Regions from separate parts of the Homo sapiens genome. Here region 1 is linked to region 2. The links are contacts of gene promoters, found by promoter capture Hi-C in human tissues and cell types (Jung and others, 2019). All regions are on one chromosome and are shown on one strand. The core of a region is centred on a gene start or on the middle of the fragment in contact, and the rest is flanking DNA. Distances in the headings are between cores, read along the strand shown.

Evidence for each region. The method cuts DNA at HindIII sites, captures the fragments that hold promoters and counts their contacts. A contact is called where the count stands out against the background at its distance.
Region 1: a contact is called between a fragment that was not itself captured here and the fragment with the promoter of ATG14 in region 2, in 2 of the 25 tissues and cell types used here (pancreas and thymus).

What each region holds. Positions count from the first base shown.
Region 1 is chr14:55,483,405-55,488,997 of GRCh38, reverse strand. No RefSeq gene overlaps it. Among named protein-coding and RNA genes, the nearest start is that of TBPL2, 46 kb to the right of the region's middle. The HindIII fragment of the contact is 3,824 bases long and covers 190-4,013 here.
Region 2 is chr14:55,409,462-55,414,574 of GRCh38, reverse strand. It overlaps ATG14 (autophagy related 14), which reads left to right and starts at 2,745. Exons shown (of 10, transcript NM_014924.5): 1 at 2,745-2,973. The coding sequence starts at 2,753. It overlaps TBPL2 (TATA-box binding protein like 2), which reads left to right. Exons shown (of 7, transcript NM_199047.3): 7 at 120-365. The coding sequence ends at 196. It also overlaps a transcript of FBXO34 not described here and the pseudogene RPL21P6. RefSeq lists a silencer at 2,456-2,755. The HindIII fragment of the contact is 14,251 bases long and covers 1-5,113 here.

The DNA of each region.
Region 1 (5,593 bases), core at 852-3,351, 75 kb before region 2:
ACCAACGAAAATGAAATCAAGCTCATGGCTGTGTCTATCATAATAAGTGAGGCAAGAATTTAGAACTCACTTTCCAAAATGAAGTCAAAAGCTTCTAAAGTAAAAAGGAAGTGTAAACCAAAAATTAAAGGCTATGACAGTAAACAAAGAATAAAATGGCTATACTTTCATGAATTACAAAAATAAACCAAAGGAAGTGGGATACAACGGTTTGTATACACTATTTAACACTAACCTTGCAACTGGAAGAATCAAGTTCCAGAGAGGAAACACACACCATGTGAAGCTTTTATCATCAAAGCCCAAAGCAGCCTCTTTATAGCAAGGTTTCTGAATACAAGGATCAAAGAGAGACTCCCAAAAGAAAGAAGGTTTTGGGGACTCCTTATATAATCGAAATGAGTACATCAGGGAAGACATTTTTTAAAAGAAGAAGATGACAGTGATGACCTACTGAGGAATATGAAATAATAAGAAAACTTTGACTCTCAATGCTCAAAGTACTTGCTATAGTGGAACTAAGAGAGAAAGAAAGAAAAATAAAAACACATGGCAACTAGGCAACACAAATCAGAATGCAGTAAGTCGTCACTGTGGCTATGCTCTGGTTTCTATATTTCTAGAACTTGTGGCTTAAATTTTATTAAAGCCCCTTGGATAAAGATCTTGACTTATAAACAATACATTTTCTGTTTCCTTCATAGCTGGGGGTTTGTGTGCTCTTTCGAATGCTTTGTAAGACGTCCAGGATTTACTGCCAAAAAAAGAGACTCTTTTAAAAAGGTAATTTACCTTTTCTTAAAGATTCAAATTTAGAAGCCCTATGCCTAATACTTTAACTGAGAAGACAGAATTGTATTCAGAATAAACCAATGATTTCGCTGGGAGAAATTGAGAATATGAAATACTAAGGCTGGAACAATAGTGGTTTAGAACAGTGCTTCTCAAACTATCTGTAGGAAGGAATGAATTTTGTTTTATTTTTTCCTAATCTGTTGCAGACTGACACTTTTAGTAGATACAATGAAAATAGATTACTATACTAGAAAAATCAAATTAAAAAACAAAGCAGGCCAGGTGCAGTGGCTCACGCCTGTAATCCCAGCACTTTGGGAGGCTGAGGCGGGCAGATCACCTGAAGTCAGGAGTTCAAGACAAGCCTGGCCAACATGGTGAAACTCCACCTCTACTAAAAATACAAAAAATAGCTGGGTGTGGTGGTGAGCGCCTGCAATCCCAGCTACTCGGGAGGCTGAGGCAGGAGAAGCACTTGAACCCAGGAGGCGGAGGTTGCAGAGAGCTGAGATCACGCCACTGCACTCCAGCCTGGGAGACGGAGCAAGAATCCGTCTCAAAAAAAAAAAAAAAAAAGCATACTAATCATGAGAAAAATACCAGACAAATCTCAATTGAAGGACATTCTACAAAATATTTGACCAGTCCTCCTCAAAACTGTCAGGGCCATCAGAAACAAAGACAGTCTGAAAAACTGCCACAGCCAAGAGTGGCCTAAGGAAACACGACAACTAAAGGTAACATAGTGTCCTGGATGGGATTCTGGAACAGAAATACGACGTTAGATAAAAACTAAGGAAATCCGAATAAAGTATGGGCTTCATTAATAATAATGTGTCAATATTTGTTCATTATGTGTAATAAATGTACCACACTAAAGTCAGATGTTAATAATAAGGGAAACGGGCTGTGGGGTGTTTAGAAACCCTCTGTACTACTTCATTGTTTTTCTGTAAGTCTTAAAGTGTTCTAAAATTAAAAGTTTATTTAAAATTAGGAAAAATAGGCTGGGCACGATGGCTCATGCCTGTAATCCCAACACTTTGGGAGGCCAAGATGGGCAGATCACCTGAGGTCAGGAGTTCAAGACCAGCTTGGTCAACATGGTGAAACCCCATCTCTACTAAAAATACAAAAATTAGATGGGTGCAGTAGTACATGCCTGTATAGCTACTCAAGAGGCTGAGGCAGGAGAATTGCTTGAACCTGGAAGGCGGAGGTTGCAGTGAGCTGAGATTGCACCATTGCACTCCAGCCTGGGCGACAGAGCAAGACTCCATCTCAGAATAAATAAATAAAATAAAATAAAAATAAAATTAGGAAAAAAATATATACAAAGTACAAGCCCCCCAATTTTTAATAATTCAATAGATGTAAAATTACTCTGTCACATCTCCAAATGCTACAAAAAATTTCTAAATTCTTCCTCTCCATCTCTGTGCTTGTCTCATGATAGGCTGGTAAGGAACAGTTGGGACTGACCCTAGCTCATGAACCACACTGTTGAGTATCTCTGGTCTAGACCAGTGCTTCCCAAATGCCACGATAAAGTTTTCCTTGGGTATACAGCCAATGAGAAAAGGTAGGACAATGAATTGAGTTTTTCACAAAGCAAATTAATTTGATGTAAAGGATCATCGTATATTCTGAGATTACCTCCTTTCCACATATTTAGGGTTATTTGTGTGTATGTGTGAATGTGTATGAAACAATGGAGAGAGTGCATGGTGGTAGTTTTTGTTTGGATGTCTTTGCCTACAAGTTATTGGAGAGAGGCTTAAACATTAATATATTTATCATTTCACCAAGAAGTCTGCACTTAGAAGGCTTCCAAGGTTGAGAAATTTAGGCGCTCAGTGTTTCTAACAAGTTTCTTTTTCTCTTTGCCCTGTGCAGCCCTCAGCATCTTGGCTTGTCCTCTTAACCTGACTTTCCTCATGGTCCCAAGATGGCTGCCACAGTTCCAGTTGTCCCATAAATACAACAATACCCAAAAACAGAAAGGCTGCCAGAGACTAATTTACCATGAAACTAAAGAAGCTTAAGCTTTAGAACCCTTCACTTACACAAGCTCCTTCCAAGACCCTAGCCTGGGGGGAGAAGGCAGATCCTACCAATACATTCATCTGGTCGTATATTTTTGTAAACTGTGAAAAAGCAGGACAATTTTAAACAATTTTTCTTAAAAAGGGCTCCAAAAGGCTAGGCGCGATGGCTCACACCTGTAATCCCAGCACTTTGGGAGGCCAAGGCGGGCGGATCACCTGAGGCCAAGAGTTCGATACCAGCCTGGCCAACATGGTGAAACCCTGTCTCTACTAAAAATACAAAAATTAGCTGGGCATGGTGGCAAGTGCCTGTAATCCTAGCAACTCAGGAGGCTGAGGCAGGAGAATCACTTGAACCCGGGAGGCGGAGGTTGCAGTGAGCCGAGATCATGCCACTGCACTCCAGCCTGGAAACAGAGCAAGACTCCGTCTCAAAAAAAAAAAAAATTAAAAAAAATAAATAAATAAAAAGAGGGGAGGGCTCCAAAATTGTACAAGAAGCCCTCACTTAATGTCATTGATAGGTTCTTGGAAACTGACTTGAAGCAAAATGATGTATAACAAAACTAATTTTTCCTAGGCTAACTGATATTTCTGGAACAAAAACATCACCGCAGGCTGGTGTGGTGGCTCATTTCTATAATCCCAACTTTGGGAGGCCTAAGCGGGCAGATCACCTGAGGTCAGGAGTTCGAGACCAGCCTGGCCAACAAGATGAAACCCTATCTCTACTAAAAATACAAAAATTAGCCAGGCTTGGTGGCGGACACCTGTAATCCCAGCTACTTGGGAGGGTGAGGCACAAGAATCGCTTGAACCCAGGAGGCAGAGGTTGCAGTGAGCCGAGATTGCACCACTGCACTCTAGCCTGGGCAACAGAGCAAGACTCTGTCTAAAAAAAAAAAAAAAAAAAAAATCACCAAACTTCTAAATGAAGACCCAAAACACTTCTAATGTTGGACATTGGAATAAATATGAGCTATACATACATTTAAGAAAAATTAATAAAAACAAGTAAGATCATTATTTACCCAAGTATTCCAGTTCAGGGTCACAGGTACATCACCAGAGTGGCTTTCTAGTGGTCTATTTCAGAGGAAAAAGTGATGAAACTTTTGTTCACATATATACCTAGAATACTGAACAAGCTGGACTCATGAGCCATAATCATGAAGCAATTTAATTTTGCCTTTCACTACCCCTTCAAATTCATTAGATGGGGCAAGTTCTTCTTCCTCTGAATGAAACCCAGGCAGTCTTACAACTTTTCTGATTGCTTTTAGGAACTAAAAATCCATACTTTGACTTGAAATACCCAAACAGACTTTAGTCAGAAGTAGAATATCTGGGCTCAGACACTCCCTGTTGTCCTACATACTAACCATGTCTGACCCCTTAGGCAAGGAGGGGAGTGGGTGGGAGGAAGAGACAAGGAAGACAGGGAACGTCCCCCTAATTGACCTAAGATGGCCTTGAAAACTTTGGTCTTGGCAAATGTTTAAAGCTGACCCTCGTTTGTGGGTAACTTTCATGGTTTCTTCAGAGACTTCCCAATCGGAGAACTTTTGCTTGCAGCTTCCTTGACCTGAGTAATCACACCTCAAATTTGTCTGGTCCCTTTATTCCTTCTATGGCCTTCCTGGAAACCTGGTGATAGCTTCAGAATTGCTCGGCTAGGTCCTGATCACCAGTCCAGGAAGCCCTATCATACAGTATCTGGGATAGGTACTCACACCTCCCTTTCCCTCTCTCTCTCACACGCCATACCACACACACACACACACACACACACACACACACACACACACACACACACACACACACCCTAGGCCTTGGGAAACATTCAGGCTGCCTTAGTCCCAGTAAACTTTGATTTGCGTGTCAGCAGATAGCCAGCCCCTCTCTCATCCTTTACATTTCTGAACAGAGCTCATTTCACCAGGCTTCAATGAGGTGCATCCATGCACCAGCTCTACTCTTTGAAGGAAATCCAAAGAGTTGGAGAATCCATGTTACAGCTCTCTCCAATTCTTCCTTTCATGACCCGTCTACATTCTTGGTGTGGGTGAAGGGCTTCAGACATATCCGACCCTGTGCTGTCCTCCACCATTTAAATTTACATTAATAAACAGTAAATAAAATTAAAACTTCACTCACACTAGCCATATTTCAAGTGCTCAATAGCCACATGTGACTAGTGGCTACTGCACTGGACAGTGTAGAAAAAAAGAACATTCACAGCACTGCAGAACAAGAATCTATTGATTCTTGAACACCTACTTTAAACTTTCTACATGAGGGTCTCAGAACTTTTGGCATCTGAAACTTATCATACTTTAAAGCTTCAAGCAAAACCTAATAAACTGTTAAACATTTTAAAATGTGACCGGTATTCATGTAATTAAATATGATGTCCCTATGAATCCCATTCCATGCATAATAATCATTACATCCTTGAAGTTGTAAATATGTTACAAGGACTACTTCAATCCGTTTGCTTTAGCTTACCTTTGGTTAATGTGATATATCAGAGAGTATGTTTTGTCTCAGAGAGTGTGTTTTCATACCATTTAAATGGTATTTGTGTGTATTGAGTACGCATATTTTGAAACTACTATTTGTCTATTTATGTCCAAATCACAAAAGTGAAAGGGTAGCTTAAAAGTTGTTCATTGAAGTGTAGATGTAGTAATGAAAGTAGTAATAGACACACTATAATTGAGAACAACACAAACATAAAAAGTGAACAA
Region 2 (5,113 bases), core at 1,496-3,995:
GTACAGCTAAAGAGATGTCATATTAAAAGTAATTGGAGACAATACAATGAAATTTTAGTGTTTAAGTAAATGTTGGTATTTTTATATTAAAAATTATATAAACCTGGATTTCTTTATAGGTGCCAAAGAACGTTCTGAGATCTATGAAGCATTTGAAAACATCTATCCTATTCTAAAAGGTTTTAAAAAAGCCTGAGCATATCATTCAGCATCTCACATTATTCTGGTTTGAATATGTCCATAAGCCCAGCACAGAAACAGCTGGATTCTTCTACGTTTAATTGTAGATGTTACAAGTACGTTACTTATTAAAGGGCGACTCTGTGTAAGTAACCTAAGAAACGAAGAAAAATTCTTATTCAAAATGACTCCTTTTGTGTTATTTTAAAAACTGAACAAGTAAACATTTCAAAATTTGAGAGATTTAGGGTCTCACTAGAATGATATTGTAGCATCATGAAGACTCAATGCGTTTCCTTTTAGCCGGAAGGGCCATCTTCCAGTAATTTGCCAAAATGACGAACACAAAGGGAAAGAGGTGAGGCACCTGATACATGTTCTCTAGGCCTTTTAGAAAAGATGGAGTTGTTCCTTTGGCCACATACATGCGAATCTACGAAAAAGGTGATATTGTAGACATCAAGGGAATGGCTGCTTTTCAAAAAGGAGTGCTCCGCAAATGTTACCACAGCAAAGCTGGAAGAGTCTACAGTGTTACCCAGCATGCTGTTGGCATTGTAAACAAGGGCAAGATTTTTGCCAAGAGAATGAATGTGCTTACTGAGCCAGGCTGGTCTTGAACTCCTGACCTCAGTTGATCCATCTGCCTGGGCCTTGGCACTCTAAGAGCCAAGTAAGTTTCCTGAAACGCGTGAAGGTAAATAATCAGAAAAAGACGTCAAAGGGAGAGGTGTCTGAGTTCAACTGAAGCGCCAGCCTGCTCCACCCAGACAAGCACTTAGAACCAATGGAGGGAGCCTGGGCTGCTGGAACCTATTCCCTATGAGTTCATGGCATAATAGGTGTCAAAAAAAATTCTGAACTGTACAAATGTTTCTCTTCATTGAGAAGTGTGGCGCCGCCCCCTCCCCTTAAAGAAATATTTAAACTACATTTTGTATCCAAAAACCTCAGTGCTCTGCTGTTAAGTAATACATTAATATGCGTTCTCTGAAAATATATAGCAACATATAGGAGTTTCAAATAACTGCATAAGCTAGATACTATCTGTGATATCATCTAGCACGATAGGAATTAATGTGTATTTTTTGCCTTTTAAAATATTGAACAGTTGATCCTGATCATTAGGTATTAAGCACTGTGAAGGATCCTGTCTGAATACAAATGAAACATAAGCCCGAGACCTTAAAAAATAATCCTTTTGTTTGAAATGATCAGAGAGAAAGACTTCTCACTTAAAAATAAATCTTAAACTTTCAGGAACCATTCAAGTTTAGTGTAAACTGTATTCTGAATATAGAGAATTTTTGCTTTTGCTTGTTTTTGTAATCCTACGTGATTTGTATTTAAAAAGACTGGGTAAGATTAAGAAGACGGAGGAGCAAAGGGCTCAGATTCAAGACCTAATTAGCTTGTAGAATCACCAGTTTTCGATGGTGATGTGGAGATTAACAGGGAGGGACGGGCTAATATGAATCATGGCTCTTGGCTGTAAATCATCAGTGATTACGTCCTTTACCAAAGTAAGAAAACAGGTTTGTAGGGAGGCAGAAGTCAGTTTCCAACACTTTGAGTTTGTGGTGTCCTGGAATGTCACCTGATACCTAGTAAGTAGTTCTGGATCTTTGGGTATGGAACTTGAGAAAGGAATCCTGGCTAGAGAGAGAATTCAGGGCAGTTTATCAGTAGATAGCCTAGTAAAATCATCCTTGAGAATCACTGGTCTATTTAATCTCACCTATAAACTCACTTTTCTCTGTAGTTTAGAGGCATATTCAAACACTAATTACTCTGATATGATCCTCCCAACACATCACCTTATATATCCCCTATCCACCAAAAGAAACTTGAAGGGAAGTCCTAACCATCTACCTAGTTCAAATTCTCTTAGAGCATGGCCCAGGGTAGGGAAGGTACGTTAGCCACGTGATTAACTTTTCAGAAGGATACAATTCTGATTTTGCACGTTCACTTTGGTTGTTTTCACTATTGGTAAAGTATAATACTATTAACCATATTAATCCTCACGGCATTAGATGGGTACTATAATTCTATCCATTTAACACGAGAGAACAGGCGCAGAGAGATTAAGGAACTTGCCCCAAGTCACACAGCTATTAAGCAGGTGAGTGAGCCAAAATTCAACCTAGTTCCAAGACCCAGCCCCTTCACCCTACTTTGTTTGCTGTAGTTTAGCCAGATTTTAAAGCATCCACAGCAAGTTAAATTCCCTTATTCCGCTCCCATTCCGTTTTCCCAGAATCCTTAGGGTATGGTATTACAATTTTCTGCACAAGTTTGAGGCTTTAACTCGTAGTCTTGGCCTGAGCCAGCAGATGACATTTTGTTTGGCCGACTAGCCCCTCTAATATAACTCTCCCCCTGCTTCGGGACCTGTTGCCCCTCAGCAGACCGGAAAAACAACAGTGCCCGGGACAGGAACACGCGGCGGCGGAGGGGTCCGGGGGCTCGCCGGCATCCCAGCCCCCCTTCCCCAGGCCCCTCCTCCTGGCCCAGAATGCACCCGGTTGAAAACAAAATCCCACGTGACTGGCTCTCCTCTCAGGCCATCATGGCGTCTCCCAGTGGGAAGGGAGCCCGGGCGCTGGAGGCTCCTGGCTGCGGGCCCCGGCCGCTCGCCCGGGACCTGGTGGACTCCGTGGACGATGCGGAGGGGCTGTACGTGGCTGTGGAGCGCTGCCCGCTGTGCAACACTACCCGCCGGCGGCTGACCTGCGCCAAATGCGTTCAGAGCGGCGATTTCGTCTACTTCGACGGCCGCGACCGGGAGAGGTACGGCGGCCGCCACGGCCCTATTGTTTCTTCTGCTGTGTGTCCTCCAGCCAGGCAGCCGAAGGCTGGAACCTGGGGCTCCCCGTCCGGGCACCAGATACCAGCGAGAGGAGCGAGAGAGAGGGAGTGTAGCTAGCTGCTCTGCACCGGAGCTTTGCTACCAGAGGACAGCGTAGGGGCCAGATGAGGGAAGGTCGCCGTTTCCCCATCACCCACCCAAGAGGAGTTTGACCCCACGGTGCTCTTGGTCACTGGGGAAAAAAGGAATAAGTGGTGACTCTCTGGAGAAGTTTTCCCGTTGCTGCCATTAAGTTAGATTCCCAGCTCTTTGCTGTATGTACTCCCATTCAAAAGCTTGGCTTTCTATTTTCGAAAGCATATTTATACTCATTCTCTAGAGGAGAGAGTAGAAGAGAATCAAATAACTGCTTTAGAGGGATTTGGGCCTGGTAGTCTGTCACAGATGGACTTTGTTATCAGACATGCTTACTCTAATGTGTGAATTGAGGCTTGCTGTTAACGCCCCTTTCCCCTCCCTGCCTCTAAAGATTATTTTAGATTCTTAGGAATTTGGGAACGTGTTTTGGCCTTGTTTTAAAATTCAGATTGGGAGCTGCATGCTTTTAGTTAAGAGAATTGCCTTTAGGAAAATGTTTTGGTTTCATTTCGAAATCTAAACAGCTACAAGTTCTTGGTTAAGAAAATTGAAAAATTAGTGTGATTAGCTGCAGGATCTCCCACTCTCAACTTATGTTTCAACAATTTAGTGTCAATGATAGTCAATGATAGTAAGATAGCTAGCATTCTGAGCACAAAAATTCAGGTATTAATTCATTCGCAACAACCGAATGACTTATCCCCAACTTATTAGGAAGCTGCACAGTAAGTGCTTTGCCCCAGGTCACACAAATAGTTAAGTGTTGGTACAAGAATTAAAATTCAGACAGCTTGGACCTATGTACCCGCACTTAACCACTAGACTTTATATCCTCTATATTTGGGAATGTTTTGAGTTCTTAGTATTTCTGTGATCGTGGATGGAGTTCTTTCCTTTCTCTTTTGAGGAGGTTTGAATGACAAACTCTTTTTTAGTTTTGTTGCTGTGTCTTATTGGTGCTCTTGATGACTTTAGAAACTGCTTATGTAGTAAGTGATAGCTTTAAAAATTAAACCAGTTATAAGAATACGGGGTATGAGATGGAAATGTCTAACTGATGGAGTGAATCGAGGATTTGGTTCTGGACCTTCTTGTCTGTCTACACGTTTTACTATGTCTATTCACATAATTTAAATACCATCTATATGCTTAAGACTGCCAGACTTGTATCTCCAACCTAGTCTTCTCTAAAGTCCAGAAAACAGCTGCTTATTCAACATCAATATTTTTAGATTTGTAATAGATATCTTCATTTTAATATGGCAAACTGAACTCCTTGTTTTCCATCATAAATCTGTTTTCCCATGCTCATCCCAACCCAGTAAATGTCAATCTCATTGTTCCTTTGGTTCAGGCTAAAAAACCTTTCAGTTCTCCTTGACTCCTCTCTTAACCCAACTCTGTTTAGTCCCATCAACAAATCCCATCTACTCTTCAAAACTTATCTTACAACAAATCCCATCTACTCTTCAAAACTTATCTTAAATCTTACCCTTTCACCATCACCTGGTCCAATCTACCAGAGACATAAACTTATTTCCTCTTATGTCTCTGCTTCCGTCCTTGCTCCCCTTTTGTACAATTTCCATATTGCAGCCACAGTTATGCTACTCCTCCATTTCTGTTCAAATCTTCCAGTGGTTTTTCACTTTACCCAAAGTAAAAGCTGGAGTCCTTAACCAAAGTTCTATATTATCTGTTCCTCTGATTTAATCTCCTATTATTTTCTCCCTTACCTAATCTGCTGTGCCACTGTGGCCTCCTTGTCTGTCCTCAAACATACCAAGAACACTCCTTCCTCAGGACCTTCGCAGTGGTATTTAGACAGCCAGGAACTCTTTCTCTCAGAAATCTTCAGGGCTGCCTCCTTTGTTTTTTTTTTTAGGTGCCTGCTCATACGTTAGACTCTTTCTGATCCTTCTATTAAAATGCTAACCTCATGCGTATTTAACCAGCTTTATTATCTTTTCTTTTCCATAACAC